5 separate regions of the Homo sapiens genome follow, and regions 2, 3, 4 and 5 are each linked to region 1. The links are contacts of gene promoters, found by promoter capture Hi-C in human tissues and cell types (Jung and others, 2019). All regions are on one chromosome and are shown on one strand. The core of a region is centred on a gene start or on the middle of the fragment in contact, and the rest is flanking DNA. Distances in the headings are between cores, read along the strand shown.

What was found. The method cuts DNA at HindIII sites, captures the fragments that hold promoters and counts their contacts. A contact is called where the count stands out against the background at its distance.
Region 2: a fragment that was not itself captured here is called in contact with the fragment with the promoter of NDST3 in region 1 in 1 of the 25 tissues and cell types used here (dorsolateral prefrontal cortex).
Region 3: a fragment that was not itself captured here is called in contact with the fragment with the promoter of NDST3 in region 1 in 2 of the 25 tissues and cell types used here (dorsolateral prefrontal cortex and mesendoderm cells).
Region 4: a contact is called between a fragment that was not itself captured here and the fragment with the promoter of NDST3 in region 1, in 2 of the 25 tissues and cell types used here (mesendoderm cells and thymus).
Region 5: a fragment that was not itself captured here is called in contact with the fragment with the promoter of NDST3 in region 1 in 2 of the 25 tissues and cell types used here (H1 embryonic stem cells and dorsolateral prefrontal cortex).

Annotation. Positions count from the first base shown.
Region 1 is chr4:118,031,445-118,035,970 of GRCh38, forward strand. It overlaps NDST3 (N-deacetylase and N-sulfotransferase 3), which reads left to right and starts at 3,042. Exons shown (of 14, transcript NM_004784.3): 1 at 3,042-3,148. The HindIII fragment of the contact is 9,214 bases long and covers 1-4,526 here.
Region 2 is chr4:117,157,791-117,162,645 of GRCh38, forward strand. No RefSeq gene overlaps it. Among named protein-coding and RNA genes, the nearest start is that of TRAM1L1, 75 kb to the left of the region's middle. The HindIII fragment of the contact is 3,457 bases long and covers 1,151-4,607 here.
Region 3 is chr4:117,361,439-117,365,826 of GRCh38, forward strand. It overlaps LINC02263 (long intergenic non-protein coding RNA 2263), which reads left to right. Exons shown (of 5, transcript NR_147153.1): 2 at 1-68. Among named protein-coding and RNA genes, the nearest start is that of LINC02263, 3.0 kb to the left of the region's middle. The HindIII fragment of the contact is 6,739 bases long and covers 1-4,388 here.
Region 4 is chr4:117,337,822-117,342,015 of GRCh38, forward strand. The region is part of intron 3 of LINC02262 (long intergenic non-protein coding RNA 2262); the gene reads right to left. Among named protein-coding and RNA genes, the nearest start is that of LINC02262, 21 kb to the right of the region's middle. The HindIII fragment of the contact is 4,499 bases long and covers 1-3,787 here.
Region 5 is chr4:117,465,005-117,469,395 of GRCh38, forward strand. The region is part of intron 2 of LINC01378 (long intergenic non-protein coding RNA 1378); the gene reads left to right. Among named protein-coding and RNA genes, the nearest start is that of LINC01378, 39 kb to the left of the region's middle. The HindIII fragment of the contact is 4,260 bases long and covers 262-4,391 here.

The DNA of each region.
Region 1 (4,526 bases), core at 1,792-4,291:
CCAAAATACAGTCATAAGAATAGTAAGTATCTTATTTTGTAGAAGAAGTTTTTCTGGTTTTGTGTTTTTGTGCAGAGGAGGTAGAAAAAGAAAAGAAAAAGTGAATATCATTTCTGAATCTGCCTACATTCCCTGAAACATTTAGGAATTTATGAATTCATGAATCTTGTCTATTCTCTGAAATCTTGTAGAAGAGCCTGACCTCCTACAGCTATATCAATATAAGCGACTGAAGGGCAGAGAGTGGTCCTGCTTTTCTTTTTTCAATATTATTGTATTCCCAGAGCCATTTAGTAGGTGTTCAATAATTTTTTTGATTACTAAAATGATGAATGCATGGCTGCTCGGAAGACAGAGCAGGCTCTCTCTTGGGTAAGGAGTACATAGAAAAATAAATGTGGGTTCTTAAAATTCTTAAAAGGCACAAGACTTCCAGGGAACACTCCAACTAAAAAATAAATAAAACCAATCTAATACATGTTACTTGGCCAAAGAATTCTAGCATCCTGACATTTTTGTGGGCTTCCAGAAGGAGCAATTGGTTCAGTCACATCTGTAACCCCTCCATCACATAGAACAAAAAGGATATATAACTTCCTGATTTTAAAACACAATTCCAACTAACCCTTTCAGGACATTGGGTTCTAATTGAAGGTCTTGAACTACGAATCCAAATACCCTGATAAAGTTAATAAACAACCAGAATATTTAATTACTGTATCATCGTTTGTGTCTCTTTCAGTTTCAAGGGACAGCAAATGCAGTCCAAGCTGCCTTAAGACAAAAGTGAATGTGGCCAGTCGCGGTGGCTCAAGTCTGTAATCCCAGCACTTTGGGATGCCGAGGTGGGCGGATCTCGAGGTCAGTAAATCGAGACCATCCTGGCTTACACGGTGAAACCCCGTCTCTACCAAAATACAAAAAATTATCCGGGCCTGGTGGCGGGCTCCTATAGTCCCAGCTACTCGGGAGGCTGAGGCAGGAGAATGGTGGGAACCCGGGAGACGTAGCTTGCAGTGAGCTGAGATCACGCCACTGCACTCCAGCCTGGGCGACAGAGCGCGACTCCGAATCAAAAAAAAAAGTGAATGTATTTGTTTATGAATGAAAATATCCAGAGATAGAACTTATTTCAGCTACAGCTCGATTCCAAGCTCGAAAATCTCCATCTGGGTTTCACTTTTCTCCAACTCTCAGTTCTGCCTTCCTGAGTATCAGCTTTATTTTCAGACTTCAAGCTCTAAGCTCACATCTTCATTATGCAAAGTCCAGTAGAAGAGAGTCCACTTTCTTAAGAGAGGAAGGAAAAAAAAAAGTCCCAGAATGGTGGTTTTTTTCTGTTTTTCTCTCTGATTGGCCAGACCTGGGTTACATACCTACCCATGCTACCAGGACAGAAAGCCATCACTGGCCAGACCTGAGCTGTGGGTCTACCAGTGAGTCAGCAGCGGCTGACATCACCTAAAGCAAATGGGCTGCGGGGTGAGATCAAGTGGTTGGATCTTCCAAAATGAACAGGAGTACTGTTTCAACAAGAGTGAGTGCTGGGAAGCAAAACCACAAATGGCCAATACAAAGTATCATTAGTAGACCCCACTTAATACAATTCACATGTTAGTGGAACCAAATGAAATTTTTAAAAATATATATCATTCGATTCACACTTCTAATCAAACTATAGTTCTGGAGAGGGTAACCTCACACCTTGAATCCAAAATATCTCTTCAGTTGCTGGCCTTCCACTTGTCTTCAGGAGCTGAAACACATGGCATTTGAAAAAAACTGGCGAACAGAGGAAACTCTTGCAGCCTCGCAGCCGCCCTGGTCCAGTGCCAACGGCAGGAGCACCACAGGAAGGGACCGCGCGGGTGCGCCCCACCCTTCCAGCGTCGCCTCGGGGACTCGCACCCCTTTCCCTGGCCGCACAAGACGTTTCATCCTTGGCGGCCGCCGCCAACCCGCCGGGAGGGGCGGTCGGAACTGGCAGGCCGGGGCGGAACCCCCGGGGTCTCCTTGTCGAGGCCCGGGCAGCCAGATCCTCAGGGCCGGTCCGGGCGGGAGCCCGGTCGATGGAGGCGGCTCCCGTCCTCAGCTCCCGCTCCCTCCCCTTCCCCGGGGCGGGCGCGCGCGGGCCGGGAGCTGGGAGGCGGCGGCTCCCGCCCGGGAGGCGGTGGCGAGGGCGGCGGAGGCGCGGCCGGGCGGGTCCCAGGGCCGTGGTTCTCCAGCGCAGGAGTCCCCGGCGCACCCGCTGCGCTCGCCCCGCAGCCGCAGCCTGAGCGGCCGAAGTCGCCACCAGCTGTGTCCGCGCAGATCCCGGGCGCGGAGGGGAGAGGTCGCCCGCTTGTCGCCCCCGCCGGACCCCGGGCACCGCGTAGCACCCAAGCGCCACCCGGACGAGGGGCCCTGGGGAGCGGCTGAGGCCGAAGACCCGAGGGAAGGAGGAGCCCGCGGACGGCTGCAGCCCCAGGTAATCTCCATGGAGGACGGGGCCGGTCTCCTCGCCCAGAAACCCGATCCGGGCGCCTTGGAATGCGGACTCCAGAGGCGGCATCTCGACCAGACAAGTTTCTCGCGGCTTGGAATGAGGGAGTCCTGAAACCGACACTCGTTTTATTTAACCAGCTTTTTTCTCCTGTTTTAAATAAGTTTATTTAGACAATGGAAAGAAAAAAACAAACAGCCTCTTGAGTGACTGTGGGTTTGTAAATATAATCCTAAAAGTTTTTCATGGTGTGGTTATTTGCTTGCTCATATTTATTAACCTGTTAACTCTTCCGCTAGTCAGAAAATTGACATGTAAAATATTCTTTGAGGAACGTTACAAGTTTGCTGTTGTATTCGGGCATCCTGTTATTCATCAGCTTAGTTAGCATCTGTCTTCCCCCGAAGTGGTACCAAAGCCGGTCCCTTGGCGACGGGTCTTGCATGTGACACTCTTGCCCTCTAGTGCCTCACCAGCTTGGTAGCAGTTTGATGGCTAATATTAATAAGATGTTACATAACATGAGAGTACTGGGCCAGGACTGGTGTTGCTACCACTTGTAAAGTCAAAAAGCCTGAGCCGATGGTAACGAGTGGTACTGTTTCCGTTTCTTTTCCATCTATTGCAACTTTCTCAAGCATTTTCAGCTCTGAACTTTAATTCCAGGTAAGTGTATTTATTTATTTATACTGTGCATTAATGCCTCACTCATAAATGTAGGGGCTTTTAAGAGATAACAACTTTGCTTTCAAATAATCTAAAAATTTCAAGATTGAACAAGTGCTTCATTTTATTCTTGAAGAAGAAATATAGAGTATTTTGATTAAATTAAGTGAAACAAAGGACCGTCTCATTCAGGGATGATTTTAAAGCTTCCCTTTCATAAGATTATGGTACTAAAGAAATGACCTCTTGTAATTGTTTAAGATATTCACCAACTTATAATGATTCTGAAGTAGATCTGTTTAACAGAACACATGTCTGTTGCCTTGACAGAATTTTGTAAGGAATATCAGAGACTTTAAACTACCTGCCTATCTACACAGTAATGATCCTCAAAAGGCTTTCTATTTGATGCAGTTTATAGACATTATTTAAAACTATACAATTAATAAAATTAAATGGAAATGGAAAGAATCAATCTAGGTATCAAATACAGAAACTTTAAATTTAAAGAAAACAGATATATCTTCTATTTAATATATCCATTTTGTGGGGGCAGGTAAAAGCAAAGTTACATCTTTAAGGGGTTTACTCAGATCCTTTTTCAAATAGTTTTTCTAATAGCTGGATACTGTTTAAGCATCAGAGTTATTTAATGTCGAAAATGTATTAGTATCTATATTCTTTATAAACATATTGAAATATAGCAACATGTAATCTGGAAGAGTTTAGAAGAAAACCCTTCTAGACAATGCAAACAGCTACATTCTTAATACATTTGTATTAAATTAAAATACAAATCAAATATTGAGATGTGTGCAACTGATCTGGGACACACACTTTTTTTTTGTTTTTTTTTTTTGCCCTTAGAAAATTTCATGTTATCAACTACTGAGCAATGCTGTTCACCACCAGAGAGCAGGATGATATGGCAGAGAAACTCTAGAATATCCGATATTCAGCTGAAGGGAATTTTTTTCCCTTTTTCTTCATCCATACCTTCCTATCAATATTATATTTAAGATGGAGATTTCAAATATAAGTTTGAAGGAGGCTCCTTTTTAAAATAGTACTGAACATATAAAGAGGCTTGCCTAAGATAAGCTCTTTTTTTTCTTTCTCTGGTTAACACAGTATCTACCATTTCTAATTTTGTTATCATTTTTCTTTATCATCTTGATGGTAAAACAGAAGATTTGTTTCTTTGTGTAAATAATGTTAATTTTGAGCTTGTCACATGAGTTAATTTTCTTCATAGTCTTTAAAATGAAGAATTCTTACATTACTAAAATGTTTTAGATAAAATAAAACTTTTATCTCTTTCTGGAGATATTTGTTATAGTTTAGTTTGGTGGAGTTATATATACCCTCTTTTTAAATT
Region 2 (4,855 bases), core at 1,629-4,128, 870 kb before region 1:
ATCTGTTTGTGCACACAATCTTATGTTTATTGGATAAAAATTCAAAATGGCTGGGTATCATCTTTTTCAGTCTTCCTCCCATCTCCCATTTTTGTCTCCATTATCCTTTTTGCCAGTGATTCTCTTCTCTTCATTGTATATGCTAATAAGGAGTACTTTGCATTTACATATGATTTAAGGGTTTACACATATGAGCTTGTTTTCATAAAAATAAAAATTTTCTTTTCCTCATATGCTATCGTCAATTTTAGGGTATGCTGTCCTCAAAAGTGCGAATGGGTGAGTTGAATCTCAGTAGAGACAGTTCTTCCTGCAATGTACTACAATACATTGTATTTGACATTTAGTCGGACACTGCATATATGTTCTTGTATTTGAGGAAGGCAAGAAACATCTTTTTATTGTACATTTATTTTGGTGGTTTTCACACTGTGCAGAAGCTTGAATATTAGCTCCTTTTCTTTATCTATTTTAATAATAACAAAAATTCAACCAGTAGAACTCTGAAATGCTGTGGAGACCATAAAATTAATCAGTAGAATTATATTTGCCTATAACTTCATTAGTTCAGTTCTCTAAAAGGAGACTACTAGCACCTGATCATCTTTTCTGAATAATCCTTGTTTTATTATTTAACTTGCTAAAATGAAGGTTTTCACTGTACTGTCATTGCAGTGATGTGATTGATGGTAATGTATGTGGACTACACTGTGTTTCAGAAGAATAATTTCTTTGTTTTCAAATTTGTTTATTTACTTATGTTCTGTTGGCTGATAACATTGCTTTGTGTACAACATGATGTTTTCAAGTATATGTATGCATAAAATGGAATCATTAAATCAAGTTAATTAAAATGTTCATTACCTCATGGTTATTGTGGTGAGAACATTTAACATTCACTCTCCTAGTTGGCAGTTGTCAGGAAAAAAATAAATCATTAATTATTATAGTCACAATGCTGAAAAATAAGAGAGCAATTTTAATGTCATTCAGCATGGGAGTGTAGGGAAAAGTGATGGCTCTCCTTTGGTTTATGAAAAATCATAAACTAAGTTAGAGTTTAAAATGTATGCAGTTGATGAAGTTTAAAAATCACATGATAAATATTTCTTCAATCAATAGCACTGTTCATTCACTAGCTAAATGTAATCTACTGGCATGTGTTCAAAGTATATTTTCAGAATATAAAAGTATATGATGCAAAACATATATACTGTAAACAGCCATAAGCAATACAAAATTCATGACTTTTTATATGTTACACTACTATGATCAAGTTACTCCCTAAAAGTAATACTTTTTTCATTAGAACACTTAAATATACATTTTTGATATTTTCTTGATAAACAATGTTCAAAGTGATTGACTTATTATCATACATTTTTTTGTAGTATATATGCTTAGCTTACTCATCAATGATTTTATATTTATAGTTGGCATAGATGCTTACCATTGAGTCAAACATTTAGGGTTTGTTTCTCTATTACCTTACTAATTATCTCTCTAACTTAGATTAGTTATCAATGAAATATTAAAGATATGTCTGCAGTCAAGCCCTCTAAGAGCGTAAATGTATTTTTATTTTTTTAGTTAAAACTAGATAGACAAGTATAATTAACTCCTCACCTTTGTAAAGGTACCTTCAGGTATTATTTAAATTATAAAATTTATTTAGAGCCTCGACAATGTTAAGGTGGCATGCTTATTCCACTAGTATAAAGAAAATGGCAAATACATATATTTTGCTATTAAAATGTACTTGGCATTTAGTAAGACAGTGCATATATATCCATGTAGTTGAGGAAGGCAAAAAACATCTTTTTATTGTACATTTATTTTGATGTTTACACTTTGCAGAAGCTTGACTATTAGCTCCTTTTCTTTACCTATTATTATTATTTATTTTTCAGATGGAGTCTCACACTGTCGCCAGGCTGGAGTACAGTGGCGCCATCTCGGCTCACTGAACCCTCCACCTACCGGGTTCAAGTGATTCTACTGCCGCAGTCTCCAGAGTAGCTGGGACTACAGGCATGCACTACCACACCCAGCTAATTTTTTGTATTTTTAGTTGAGATGGGGTTTCACCATGATGGCCAGGATGGTCTCGATCTCTTGACCTCATGATCTGCCTGCCTCAGCCTCCCAAAGTGCTGGGATTACGGGCATGAGCCACTGTGCTAGGCCTACCTATTTTAAAAATAACAAGAATTCATCCAATGGAACGCTGAAATGCCTGTGGAGGATACAAGATTAATCAGCAGGATTATATTTGCCTATGATTCCATTAATTCAATTCCAGACCCTACTTATGGGTCTAATGTCCTTTATTAGGCAATGTAGGAGATTCCTATACTTCTAATAAAGTAATCTTTTTCCATTTAAATAGTCTTTGCTTTTTATCAGGCAGTATGTATTTCCACAAAGTTAATTCAATGAAATACACCTAAAGCTGAGAGTCTTATCTCGTTAATGAATGAAAAATAGAAATCAATTATTCTGAGATGAGATTCTTCCTATAATTTTTATTAGTTGTTGTGAAATGGTACATGGGTTTGTCTTGAAGATATGATGATGTATTAATTCTTAATATTGAATTAAATGCTTCTGAAGTAGAGATGACTCTCTTTGTCATGGAGTTACAGTTGTTTGATTAAATTGCATTGAATTTTGAATGTTAATGTTATATATTAACTTAAATGAGATTTTCCAATATAAATACTCTGTGAACCTCCAGCCTTGTGTTTCTTTCTTTTTTTTTTTTTTTTTTTTTTTTTTTTTGCAGGTGTGTGAGACAATGGCTTTATTTATTATTATTATTTTATTTATTTATTTGTTTTGAGACAGAGTCTCACTCTGTCGCCCAGGCTGGAGTGCAGTGGTGCAATCTCGGCTCACTGTAAGCTCTGCCTCCCGGGTTCATGCCATTCTCCTGCCTCAGCCTCCCAAGTAGCTGGGACTACAGGCGCCCACCACCATGCCCCGCTATTTTTTTGTATTTTTAGTAGAGACGGAGTGTCCTCGTGTTAGCCAGGATGGTCTCGATCTTCTGACCTCGTGATCTGCCTGCCTCAGCCTCCCAAAGTGCTGGGATTACAGGTGTGAGCCACTGCGCCCGACCTCTTATTATTATTATTATTATTATTATTATTATTTTACCTCAGGAGAATGTTTGGGCAATACTTTTACATTGTATTAATACCTTACATATGAGGACATTCTTATATGTTGTCTTATTTATTTCTTAATGACCACAGTGACAACACAACTATCCCCTCTGCTCTCAGTCAAACTAAGGCAAAAATCAAAGTTAGTGACAATCTTCCCCACCCTCCAGAACAGATCTTGCCCCTGAATAAATAACTAGAAACAAAAGATGTGAAGAGGAGGTTCAAGAAGTAGATATAGTATGCTTGTTAGAATGAAATTAAAGCAAATGACTAGCAATAATAAATGAAGCAAGCAGAAAAAGGACTAGAAAAATTTTAAAGACAGGCAAGAAAATTTTTTAAAGTTGTATTTATGGTAACTATTATTATTAACTGTATTGTCAGTTATCTGAAAGTATACTTTGCCTATATTCAAAAGACAATATAATGCATAATCGAGTTTTTCTTTTGTTCAAAAACTAAGGTTAGTTCTGTTTTTTAACATTTCTATTATCCAGTGCTTAATTTATCTCTCCATTTCACTGAGAAATTTTATTTTAAAAAATGATACTACAAATGTCTTTTAGGGTCTTAGTTTCACTATGTCTTTCAGATCTTTAATTGAGCCTGATCAAGTGAATTAAATGACACCTTCATGATGTAGCAGTGTAAATTCAGCTTCAAAAATATCTAACTGATTCTGACTCTAGTATTTAGTCAATTAGAATGTGTTTAGTAACTGCTAGATTTTGGGCAGTTTACTAAACTGGAAAAGACAAGAGTACTTAATGCTGTGTAAACATGAAGCTTTACTTGACTCACTCTATTGCCTATTAAGAACGTTATCCAAATTAGCAGTCATAGTAATCAAATACAAGATGATACACTATTGAACTAAATGCCTTGGATTTGGCAATGGAAATAATGTTGTATGTCTAGAAACTTGTGCCTGACCACAGATTACAGCGTATAAAAGAGTATACAGAGAATGGCATGGTAGCTGCAGTGACTTCTGACACTAACTACCAGGGGACTCTGCAGGTTAAGGGTACAGTCCCCAACAAGACTATTTTTACTTCAGATACCAGCTGCAAGCTCAGGGGTTCCCAAGCCTCTGATGAACTCACTACAAATCTGGGGCTCCTCATTGACTTCTCAAGTAGAAAAATTCACTAGAAACTGTCAGAACTCAGGAAACTGCTATTGATACAAAAGTGGGGCAGGCAAGTGCTGGGAGTAGAAGGGCGGGTCCCTGGCGAGGGCTCCACCCCCCAGACCTGTGCCCACTGACCTAGATGAAGACAGGCACTCCTGCCTTTGCGCCCAAATGTTGCATTTCCCAAGACCACCCTGGCCTGCCACACCCCCAACCTGTGCCTATGCAAACCCCCAGACCCTAGGAGGCAGACAAACAAGTGACTGGAAGTGGAGCAGAACACATTGGCAGAAGACACAAGTGGCTGGACGTCAAGAGGACGTTGAGGAGAGCATGCCGGTGGAAGAGCACATGACAGACGCCAGCAGGCCTGCAGGCCATCAACCAGCAGAACAAGGCAGAGTTTGGCCGGGACAGTTGAAGGAGAGCCCCAGCCACGGACAACGGGGAAACTATTCCCCTTCTGGCTCCCCATCTGCTGAGAGCTACTTCCACTCAATAAAACTTTGCACTCATTCTCCAAGCCCACGTGTGATCCGATTCTTTCCCG
Region 3 (4,388 bases), core at 735-3,234, 670 kb before region 1:
TTTTGACCTTGTCAGACCTGGAGTTGAAAAACCAGCTGCACCCTTCTAGAATTCTTACTTACAAAACTGTAAGTCAATACATTTGTTCTACTTTGCTAGTTTTGTGGTACTTTGTTACTGCAGCAATAGAAAACTAATAAATATACGAACTTAAATATTTATTCTTTATATCTTAAATTGAATGTTCAGCTACATAGTGACAATTATTCCATAAAAATAAATATTGATTCATAATATATTTTTTTATTTAGGATACCCCTAAAGTGAGTTAGGCTTTGCATTGAGGAATCAATAGGGTGATATGAAAACGCTAAGACTAATATCTTGTGCTTAAAATTCTTAATGTGATTTTTGTTAAGTATTTACTCTTTAGTGATTTCTCCATTTGATAACTTTGCAAAATTTTTCACTTTAAAAAATGGGCAATCTAGAAATATTTTATTTCCTCTCAAATGGATTATGCAGATATTTACCAATACTAGGCAAGCATAGAAGTAAAAACCATTATGATGAAGAATAAGTACACAAAATAGTTTGTTTATTATGAGTCATTAATTTTGACTTTGTATAACATAAGAAGATCAGAAAAAAATTGCAGTGAGCTTTGTTAAACACTAACTTTGATCTTAAAATTTTTAACTCCATGCTCTCTCGAATAATAAGAAATGTGTAAATATATATCTTATGTTCTGGCTTAACTAAATTCCTTATTTTCTTCTCATCAATAAGTACTGTCTTTTACCTTTTTAAAGTGAATGAAATTACAGAATAAAAATTTAAATAAAATATTCAGTAAGTTAGTGTGTATTTCTTACTAGAAAACTCTAAATAGCATGAAGGACTTATTTTAATTTTTACTTATTTTCTCATTGAACACAAACTACAGATATAACCGTAAATTTTTACTTTGGATTCTTAAACCTTCAGGACTTGCTATGATCCTTTGTCTTTAGTATTTAAGCTTTCTTTGTGGGCATGAGCTGAGAGAAATGTAAAAAAATAATAATAAACTTTGTCCATATAGAAAAGGGAACCACACACACACACACACACACACACACCTGCACACACTAAATCTCTAAGCTCTTGAGAAAATAACAATTTCCCCTGGATTTCATGAAAGAAACAGATGGACAGACCCTTAGGCTCAGGGTGGAAGTGATGGTAGGAAGCTGGGTGTGTGTATTAGGTGAGCTGAGCTTGATAAATCCTCTAGCTCTGCCTCCCAGGCTTTGAAACACTATTGAAATATCTGCAGCATTTTTCTATTTCTATTTTTAACAAGAAATAGAAATTCCAATTTGAAAAATAGGTCAAACCAATTTGGGTAAATAAAAAAATGTTAGACTTCTCTACCCATACTAAGCTACTGAAAGTAACCCCATGAATCAGAAAAAAAAAATCCTTTAAATTCTATAAGCAAATTAAAACTATGTAACTTATTCTGTTAACATATCATACAAGAATTGAAAGGAATAAGTAAACATTATTAGTTATGTGGTTATTTTTTACTATATGCCAAAATATTATTTTTATAGTAATAAAAATTTATATTATAATACACTGACAAATTGATCAATGCAACATAGAAGAGAGTCAAAAAACTGATATAAATTATAAATGATATAGTACTTGAAAAAATAATATATATTTAATATCATAAAGAAATTAAAAATCATTGACATATGCTTACTTTATATTTGAATGAAAGACATATTTTTAACCTTTAAAAGAGTTATTATTTGATGGTAAGTTCTTTACTGATATAACTACTATTGGTTCTACTATTACTCTGACTATATTTTCCATAAATATTACAAATTAGGTCTAGTGAACTAATAGATACATGACATGTGGAAAAGATCTGTGCTTCAATGAAAACTATGCATTATTTATGGCACATTTCACATTACATTATTTTGATTCTATAAGCTTCTTTGCAACTCTGTTAAGTGGTAGATAATTAATAGAAATGCAAAATAATTCTTGTCTATAGACATGAAACTGAATTGTTCCATGGAGAGATAATCTTCTCACTCTTAATACTCAAGGATGAGTTTTGGATCTGTTTACAAATTCTTGCCAGTGTTCCTGATACATAATTGTGAGGAAACAGTGAAGTGCAATAACTGATTCAAAGGAGAACCCCAAACCTACACACACTTGACCCAGCAATCCCATTAGCAATCCAAAGGAATATAGATTGTTCAACCATAAGGACACATGGATTCATAAGTTAATCACAGCACTATTCGCAATAGCAGAGACATGCAATCAACCTAAATGCCCATCAGTGGTAGACTGGATAGAGAAAATGTGGTACATATACACCATGGAATACTATGCAGCCAAAATAAAGAATAAGATAATGTCTTTTGCAACAACATGGATGAAGCTGAAGACCATTATCCTCAGTGAACTAATTCAGGAACAGAAAACCCAACACCATCTGTTCTCACTTATAAGCATAAATTAAACACAGAGTACATATAGACACAAAGAAAGGAACGATAGACACCAGGGCCTACTTTAGGATGGAGGATGGGTAGGAGGGTGAGGATAAAAAAATCTACCTATCTTGAGACTAGCCTGACCAACACGGAGAAACCCCGTCTCTACTAAAAATACAAAATTACCCAGGTGTGGTGGTGCATGCCTATGATCCCCGCTACTCTGGAGGCTGAGGCAGAAGAATCGCTTGAACCTGGGAGGCAGAAGTTGCGGTGAGCCGAGATGGCACCATTGCACTCCAGCCTGGGCAACAAGAGCAAGACTCAGTCTCAAAATATATATATATATCTACCTATCAGATACTATGCTTATTATCTGGGTGATGAAATAGTATGGACGCCAACTCCCCACATCATGCTATTTAACTGTAGAACCAATCTGTACATGTACCCTTGACACTAAAAAAAAAAAAAATTAATTAAAAAAAGGTAGTGGATATTTAGTCAGTTCCACATTTTGTGTTATACTGGGACAGGCTCAAATCCATGACAAAGAGAATCTCTAAAGAGTAACTTTAAAGGTTATGTAAATTTCTGAAGTTGGGCCATCTTATTATTTTCTGTTAACATATCAACATATTTTTAAAATGGTTAAAAAATGGTACATTTGTATAGGACACTTAACCACAAATGCAGCTTGCAGGACGGGAAGTTACACCGGTTGAGTCAATGAATGAGTGGTGAGTGAATGTGAAGGCCTAGAACATTATTGTATATAGCTGTAGACTTTATAAACACTGTGTACTTAGGCTCCACTACATGTATTTAAAATACTTTTTCTTTCTTCAACAATTAATTAGCTTACTGTAACGTTTTAATGTCATTTTTATACCTCTTGTAATCTATCATCTCTCACCTTCACACACACATAAAAATCCTTCACTTCTCTAACCCTTATTATGTCTGTTACTGACGAAGAGTCAGGAAGAGCCTTGATCATCAATTAAAAATGACTTGAAAATGTTAGTAGTTGAAAAAATGGCACCTCCTTCTTTAAAAGGCCAGAAGATGATCCTTTAATTTCAGGTATCTTATTCACTATTTGAGAAGAGGCAAATGTTTGCTTTGCTTACTAAGTAAATTTACCCATCCCTTCCAATCTGTGGCATAAACTTAGTGACTACTTCCAATGCAGATAAAAAGAAAAAAAAATGAGAAAGGAGGAAAACCAAAAAAAGTAGTTTTCGAAATAGTTGAACATGTTTTCATAGAAATAATAAAAACACATTGAATATCCAGCTCTCTAATATGAGTTGATTCTAGTTCTCTTCTCCTCAGCCTCGTGAGGCAGTCAACTTTGCTACTGGCAGCCAGGAGTCTCCTAGGAGCTTCAATAGCTCAATACATCCAGAAAAACAGAGAAAGGGAGAAAGAGTGGCAGGGAGGAGAGGTTAGAGAGAGAGAGGGAAGTTTCTGAATCAAAGAGCAGAGGTGAGATATATTTCTGTCTTCTTTAAGATTGTATTTACTTGTCATTTTTCTGGTGCCCCTTAACTCTGTATTCAGAACCCCTTGTCCCCAGAGCCAACCATCAAACCCCCAAATAATATGCTAACTTTTCCTCTACCTTGTTTGTGTAAAAACTGGCTTTAAAGAAATTATCTGGCCTACCTTGTTTGATTGTTTGTCATAAGACTCCCATTCCAGAGAGGGTACTGTCCATACCCAGAAGGAAGGAATTCATGCTCAAGAGAGGCCAAGAGACTCTAGACACACAGGTTGTGCTGGGTTTACCCACTCAGTCTATTAGCATTAGATCATGTTTTTTGCCCAATAGTTTTTCTACATGGCTGTGCATACCTAAGCATAAAAATGGGCAATATTCCCTCTACCTTTGAGTCTGTATTCTGAAGCCTCCTGTGTTATATAAAACTATGA
Region 4 (4,194 bases), core at 288-2,787, 700 kb before region 1:
AGTGATGTTGAGCTTTTCTTCATGTATTTGCTGGCCACATGTATGTCCTCTTTTGAGAAGTGTCTGTTCATGTCCTTTGCCCACTTTTTAATGTGGTTGTTTGGTGGTTTTTTTCTTGTAAATTGTTTAAGCTTCATGTAGATGCTGGATATTAGACCTTTATCAGGTGGATAGAGTGCAAAAATTTTCTTCCGCTCTTTACATTGTCTGTTTCCTCTGTTGATAGTTTCTTTTGCTGTGCAGAAACTCTTTTGTTTAATTAAATCCCATTTGTCAATTTTTGCTTTTGTTCCAATTGCTTTTGGCATCTTCGTCATGAAATCTTTGCCTGTGCCTATATCCTGAATAGAATTGCCTTTGTTTTCTTATAGGGTTTTTATAGTTTTGGGTTTTACATTGAAGTCTTTAAACCATATTGAGTTAATTTCTGTATAAGTTGTAAGGAATGGGTCCTGTTTCAATTTTCTGCATATAGCTAGGCAGTTCTTTCTGTACCATTTATTAAACAGGGAATCTTTTCCCCATTGCTTGTTTTTGTCAGATTTGTCAAAGATCAGATGGTTGTCAGTGTGTAGTCTTATTTCTGCGTTCTCTATTCTGTTCCATTGATCTGTGTGTCTGTTCTTGTACCAGTATCATGCTGTTTTGATTACTGTAGCCCTGTAGTATAGTTTGAATTCAGATAGCATGATGCCTTCAGCTTCGTTCTTTTTGCTTAGAATAGCCTTGGCTATTTGGGCTCTTTTTTTGTTTTCATAGGTATTATAAAACAGTTTTTTCTAATTCTATGAGGAATGTCAATGGTAGTTTAACAGGAACAGCACTGAATCTATAAATTACTTCAGGCAGTATGGCCATTTTCACAATATTGATTCTTCCTATTCATGAACGTGAACTTTTTTGTGTTTACTTTTGTCATCCCTGACTCCTCTGAGCAGAGCTTTGTAGTTACCTTGTAGAGATATTTCACATCCTTTGTTAGCTGTATTCCTATGTGTTTTATTCTGTTTGTGATGATTGTGATTGGGAGTTCATTTGTGATTTGACTCTCAACTTGACTCTTGTTGGTGTACAGGAATGCTAACAATGTTTGCACACTGATTTTGAATCCTGATATTTTACTGAAGTTGATTATCAGCTTAAGAAGTTTTGGGGCTGAAATGACGGTGTTTTCTAGATATAAAATCATGTCATCTGCAAACAAAGATAGTTTGACTACCTCTCTTCCTATTTGAATACACTTTATTTCTTTCTCTTGCCTGAATTCCCTGGCTAGAGCTTCCAATACTGTGGTGAATAGGAGTTGTGAGAGAGGGCATCCTCATCTTTTGCCAGTTTTCAGGGAAATGCTGCCAGTATGATATTGGCTGTGGGTTTGTCATATATGACTGTTATTATTTTGATATATGTTCCTTTAATACCTAGTTTATTCAGAGTTTTTAAAATGAAGAGATGTTGAATTTTAATGAAGGCCTTTTCTGCATCTATTGAGATAATCATATGGTTTTTGTCTTTAGTTCTGTTTTTGTGATGAATCACATTGATTGGTTTGCATATATGATGAATCACATTGATTGGTTTGCAAATATTGAACTGACCTTGCATCCTGGGGATAAAGCCTACTTGATTGTGGTGGATATGATTTTTGATGTGTTGCTGGATTCAGTTTGCCAGTATTTTGTCAAGGATTTTTGCATCAATGTTTATCAAGGATATTGTCCTGAAGTTTGTTTTTTTGTTGTATCTCTGGAGGTTTTTGTATCAGAGTGATGCAGGCCTCATAAAATGAGTTAGGGAGGAGTCCCTTCTTTTCAACTTTTTGGAATAGTTATGGTATGAATGATACCAGCTCTTCTTTGTACCTCCTCTAGGACTTATTTTTTTCTTTTGGTTGGTAAGCTATTAGTGCCTCAATTTCAGAACTCATTATTGGTCTATTCAGGGATTCAATTTCTTTCTGGTTCAATCTTGGTAGGGTATATGTGTCCAGCAATTTATCCATTTATTTTAGATTGTATAGTTTATAGAGGTGTTTGTAGTATTCTCTGATGGTTGTTTGTATTTCTGTGGGGTGATATGCCCTTTCTTTCTGACTGTGTTTATTTGAGTCTTCTCTCTTTTCTTCTTTATTAGTCTAACTAGCAGTCTAACTATTTTATTTTATTTTTTTCAAAAATCAGCTCCTTTACCGTTTGAATTTTTGAAGGCCTTTTTCCTATCTCTATCCTCTTCAGTTCAGCTCTGATCTTAGGTATTTCTTGTCTTGTGCTAGCTTTTTTTTTTTTTTTTTTCTTTTTTTTTCTAGTTCTTTTAGTTGTGATGTTAGGCTTTCAACTTGAAATTGTTCTGGCATTTTGATGTGGGCATTCAGTGCTATAAATTTTCCTCTTAGCACTGCTTCAGCTGTGTTATGGGGATTCTAGTACATTGTATCTTTGTTCTCATTAGTTTCAAAGAACTTCTTGATTTCTGCCTTAATTTCATTGTTTACCCAAAAGTCATTCAGAAGCAGGTTGTGCAATTTCCCTGTAGTGGAATGGTTTTGGGTGAGTTCTAATTTGATTGCATTCTGATCTGAGAGACTGTTTATGATTTCACTTCTTTCGCATGTTTCTGAGGAGTGTTTTACTTCTTATTATGTGATCAATTTTACAGTGAGTGCCATGTGGTGATGAGAAAAATGTATATTCTGTTATTTTTGTTTGGAGAGTTGTGTAGATATCCATCAGGTTCTCTTGATCCAGAGCTGAGTTCAGGTCCTGAATATCTTTATTAATTTTCTATCTCAATGATCTGTCTAATATTGTCAGTGGAATGTTAAAGTCTCCCACTATTATTGTGTGGGAGTCTAAGTCTCTTTGTAGATCTCTAAAAACTTGCTTTATAAATATAGGTACTCTTTTATTATGTGCCTATATATTTGGGATAATTAGCTCTCCTTGTTGAATTGAACCCTTTACCATTATGTAATGCCCTTCTTTGTCTTTTTTAATGTTTGCTGGTTTAAAGTCTGTTTTGTCAGAAACTAGGATTCCAACCCATGCTTTTTTTCTGTTTTTCATTTGTTTGCTAGATTGTCCTCCATCCTTTTATTTTGAGCCTGTGAGTGTCTTTGCCTGTGAGATGGGACTTTTGAAAACAGCATACTGATGGGTCTTGCTTCTTTATCCAGCCTGTCATTCTGTGTCTTTTAATTGGGACATTTAGCCCATTTACGTTTAAGATTAGCATTGCTATATGTGGATTTAATCTTGTCATCATGATGCTAGCTAGTTATTTTGCAGACTTGAGTATGCGGTTGTTTCACAGTGTCACTGGTCTGTGTAACTTCAATGTGGCTTTATAGTGGCTAGTAATGGTTTTTCCTTTCCTTGTTGAGTGCTGTCTTCAGGGCTCTTGTAAGGCAGGTCTGGTGGTAATGAATTCCCTCAGCATTTGCTTGTCTGAAAAGGATCTTATTTCTTCTTTGTTTATGAAGCTTAGTTTGGCTTGATATAAAATTCTGGCTTGGAAATTCTTTTCTTTAAGAATTTTGAATATTGGCCCCCAATCACTTCTGGCTTTTAGGGTTTCTGCTGAAACCCCCCCATCCCTCTAGGGTCTCCTTCCAAGGGAGAGATCAGATCTCTGTCCATAGAAAACAGGCAGGGGTGGCTGGAGGCCCCACCTGGGAGGTCAGACCCAGTGAGGAGGGATGGATCTGGGTCCTACTTAAAGAAGCAGTCTGGCCATGAATTGGCAAAGCAGCTGTGCTGTGCTGGGTGGTGGTGGGACTTCCTTGTTGAGACCTTTTAGAGTTTCCAAAGCTCTCAGACTAAAATGGCTGAGTCAACCAAATGGCAGAGATGGTGACCTGACCCTCCACTAGTGGACTCTGTCTCATCTCAGGCTGGCTCCTCCACCCTATTGCTGGTGGCTGGCTGGAATTCCAAGCCAGCAGGTCTTATCTTGTGAGATGCCATGGAATTGGGGCCTGCAGGATGATGCTGTCTGGCTCCCTGGATTCAGCCCCCATCCTGGGGGTATGTACAGACCTCCTGCCTTGCCTGAGTTGCAGACACATTTGTTCGGGATTCTGGGGGCTGGAGTATGTAAAGCTTCTGGGTCTCTCTGTGTGCCTGAGTAGCTGCTCTGCCAAGACCCCAAAAACACTGATGGCGTGGGCTCACAAGGGGATCTCCTGATCCACAGGTT
Region 5 (4,391 bases), core at 1,142-3,641, 570 kb before region 1:
AATATATTCATATGCAAAACATATCATAGTCAAATCAAATAGAGAAGCTAATATCAGAAGTTTTTAGAGAAAGGTAATCACATCAAGTGCAACTTAACCTAATTGAGGCTGATTTTTAAGTGACTTTTATTTCAAAGGTAGATTTAATCTTCTAATGCCAGCTTTTTTCTATCTTAAATTCAGAGCCCTTTGAATCTTTTTCCTTTTCCTTTTTTTTCCCCTTTCATCTTGTTATTTTAATCCATGGGGTGAATAAATTTCTGTCTAACAAAATTTCATTATCTCCTGCTTTGATTAAGGATCATTACAATTTGTAGATTTTTTTTTTTATCTCTTTGAAAGAATTTTACCCTCTATTGGTTTAATAAAATGCCAATATATGTTACAGGAGGAAAACTATAGTAAGGCAATTAGAACATGTTCTACTGTAGAGAAGAAATAATGTTAGTTTACTTATTTTTAAATCATATATGAGAAATTTCTAAGGGGAGAGAGTGCTCAGAATCTTTTAATAATTCTTGAAGATTCAATAGCAGACATTTTGATTACATTTAACAAGTATTTTATTTAACAATTTTTATTGAATGGCTGAGTGTGCACCATTGAGGATATGTCCCACAGGGCACCTGTTCTGATGTTAACACACTAAAAATATAAAATAAAATAAAATAAAATAAATTACAGTTAAGTGCTGCTGTAACTATTGGGACAGTAGTCCATACTACTTGAAGTGAATATGAAATATGTATTTAAAGAATCAGTGAATGAACTTTTGAGAAATTTATGTCTAAGGCAGTTTCTTTAATATTAATAGGATTTATGTTGATAATATGTGAGGGTGTTGGGCCCAAAGAAATATTAATTGGTTATATCATAGTTCCTTCCATGATAATAATACTTCATTTTTATTAGCCATCATAGTTTTATTTTCTGTAACTTTTTTATTCATATATTCTACTCAATTTCTTTTTATTTCTCTTGCCTATTCCAAATTGTTTTGCTAATGTTGTTAATGTACACATATTATATATTGGTGAAAAGTGAGAGTCCGGACTTTCAGAGCCACTACCTGCATCTGAATCTCAGCTCTGCCCCATGCAATCACTGTGACCTTGGACAAATTCCTTAACATCTCCATGCTTAAGTTTCATCTGTAATATAGGATAAATAATGACATCAATTACACAGGAGAGATATAATGATAAAATGAATTGCTAGATGTAGAGTACATAAAACAAGCTTGCACATAGTAAGCTCTTTATAAGTGCTATTATACCATTATATATTAGATATTAATTTTAGCATAAATCTATCATTAACAGCTGTCCAAAAACTATCAAGGATCGTTTGTATATTTCAGTAACTCCCTAATTGTGAATCTCATTTTCCCAAATTGAAAATATTTTCTAGTGGAAAATATTTTGAGAAATGTTGAGAAAATATTCCCAACTACCTTTTCCACTAGCTTACAGAGATCTCATTTAGGTTCTGCCAATTTCGTGCACCTGCATGAAACTCTGACTCATAGGTAAGCCATGTCAGAAAACCAGCAGGAATAGGGAACCCAAATTGCTGGCGCATGCAGGAACCAAGCAGTGAATGTATGAGGTTAGCAATGATGGTGTTTCTTTCCTAATTGTGACTGAAGCAGTGGGATCCACAGTATTAGTTGCTTAACCACCTAGTTCTGTGATGTTGTCTGAGAGTTGTTCCTGGAAGCTTATTAATATCTTAATAAATCCTTCCTGTTTAAACTTGTGAGCATGTGACGGGCGCGATGGCTCACGCCTGCAATCTAGCACTTTGGGAGGCCGAGGAGGGCGGATCACTTGAGGTCAGGAGTTAGAGACCAGTCTGGCCAACATGACAAAACCCCGTCTCTACTAAAAATACAAAAATTAGCTGGGCGTGGTGGCTCACTCCTTTAATCCAAGCTACTCAGGAGACTGAGGTAGAAGAATCTATTGAACCCGGGTGGCGGAGTTTGCAGTGAGCCAAGATCCTGCCACTGCACTCCAGCCTGGGCGACAGAATGAGACTCTGTCTCAAAATAAATGAATAAAAACTTGTGAGAGTGGAGTCTATTGACTTATAGTGGGAAGAATGACCACTATAGTAATTTACTTCAGCAGTGGTTTCAGGCATCTAGCACTTTAAGAAAAAAAAAAAAAATGTTGAGGGTCAGGGGAGTACTTGAAATTGGTCAATTTATCTGATGGAATTTGAAGTCAGTAAAGAATTCATTAGCATTAGAAAAGGATGTTGGCATTCCGTGGCACAGACTGAAGAAATATTGACATCTCTGTGGTCACTTGGAATGAAGTGCAAATTAAAATCAATTTTGACGGAGTTGCTGATTACTATTTACACCATTTTAATAGATATCAAAAATGCTGGGGGTTTGGGGAAGAATGGGTAGGCTATTCTAGCTGTGTAGGAGAGTTTAAAAATAATTTAACAGTCCAAAGTTTTAAGTTATTACCTCAGCCATTATCAGATAGCTAAAGGTTTTTATGATATTATTAGAATTATTTTTCTATTATTTAGCAACAGGACTGTTTAGCAACATGGAACCTGACGTTGCCATTATTGTATTGCAACATAGGCAGAATCTGCAGCTGTTTTAGATCTCTTTTATCATGTGCTTATTCATTCTGTGGATATTTATAGCCAACTACTTGAAAGCCACTAGTACAAATATTATGCTATAGAAATAAAAAAATAGATAAATCCTCTGTCTTCAAAGATATTGCATTCTATAGGCAGGGGGTAGGGATAAATCGAAAATTAACATCTCTGCTGATAGGAAAAGAAAACTGAAGCGAGGCTAAATAAACTGGATAATGATGGGGTAATGTTTTACTGAAGATGTCTGGAGAATGCCCACACCTCCCTCCGAAAGCACACACCAAGTTGGGATTACATGAGTAAGGGACTTATTGGGGGAAATACCTGTGAAGGATAAAGAGGCACAGTCCGAGAAGGTGGAGAGAGCTTTGAGACCACCTATGAAGGACAGGGCCAAGTTAGAAAATTGAACAGGTAGAATCTTACACTGCAATGCAATTCTTTAAAATTTTCATACAGGCAGACAGGAAGTCCCTGAGCCAAAGTCACCTGTTTAAGGAGTTTTTTTCTTCTTCAGGAGTGGACCAGCCTTTCAACCCCCACCATCATCAGTCATTGCCTCAGAGCAGTCCACAGGAAACATAACCTTGACCCAAATAAGGTAATGGAACCAGTAGGGATCATCAATTACACTTCCCAGCGCAGAAAATCTGAGCAGAACATTTTCATGTCCCTTTGATAAGATGGAGCAGAAAGCTGAAGGGAGTTAGGGATGAAGCCACACAGCAAATTGAGGGAAGAACATTCTATATAGAGGAAACTGTGAGCACAATGTTGCTGAGAAGGAAATATGTCTGGCATATTATGTGTATCTATAGCCTAGTAAGCAGAAGGTAAGGCATAAAAAAATAAGCTGGAGGGATAGCAGGATCAGTATTATGTAGGTGAAGTAAAAGGGGGAATGACTGTAAAGGATTTGATTTTTAATGAAGATGGAAAAACTTTGTAGATCGTTAAGAGTAAGAATGATGTTTGAAATTATCTGAATTATGTTTGGTCATTCTTGCTGTCATGTAAAACACAGTCTATATAGAGACATGGTTTTAAAAAAAATAGATAGGATTATATTGCAATATTCCAAGGGCGAGATAATTATGTTTGTTTGTTTTTGATGAGGGTGTCTGCCATAAAGACAATGAGAAATGGTCAGATTCTGCATATGTTTTTAACGCAGATCTGACAGGGGATGCTAGAGAAAAAAAAGAGTGAAGGATGCATTCAAATTCAGGGATTGAGTAGGAGGGTGTCAGATGAAAAATTTCAGTGAGGGCTTTGGGAGGATTCAGGTAATTCCAAGTTCCCTGAGCTCTCATATCTTACTAAGTCACTCCATGAAATAGAAATAGCCTCTCCTTATTGTCTGGTGAGTCTTAATTATATATTCCTGTTCCTGGCTTGTTTATAGAATCTGCAATAGTCTCACCTATGAAATTGACAAAGACAAGATAGATACCTTGTACAACAAAATTAGATTTATATGGGAGGGAATTCAAGGAAGCGTGAATGATGGAGCAGGTAGAGTGAGCTAGGGAGGGAAGCAAAGATTATTTTAAAAGACAGATCACTGAGGTCACTGCTGTGAACAATGTGGATGTGGTTCCACCAGATTTTAAGATATGTACAGAATGCCTCCCAGAACTGCCCATTTCAATGGTAGGGGGCTAGACAATTTATGCGCAAGCTTCCATTATTTATTGTTGGAGTAAGGAAGAATAAAAATAGTAGAAGTTGAAGTGAGAGAGGTAAAAAGAAGAGGAAAGATG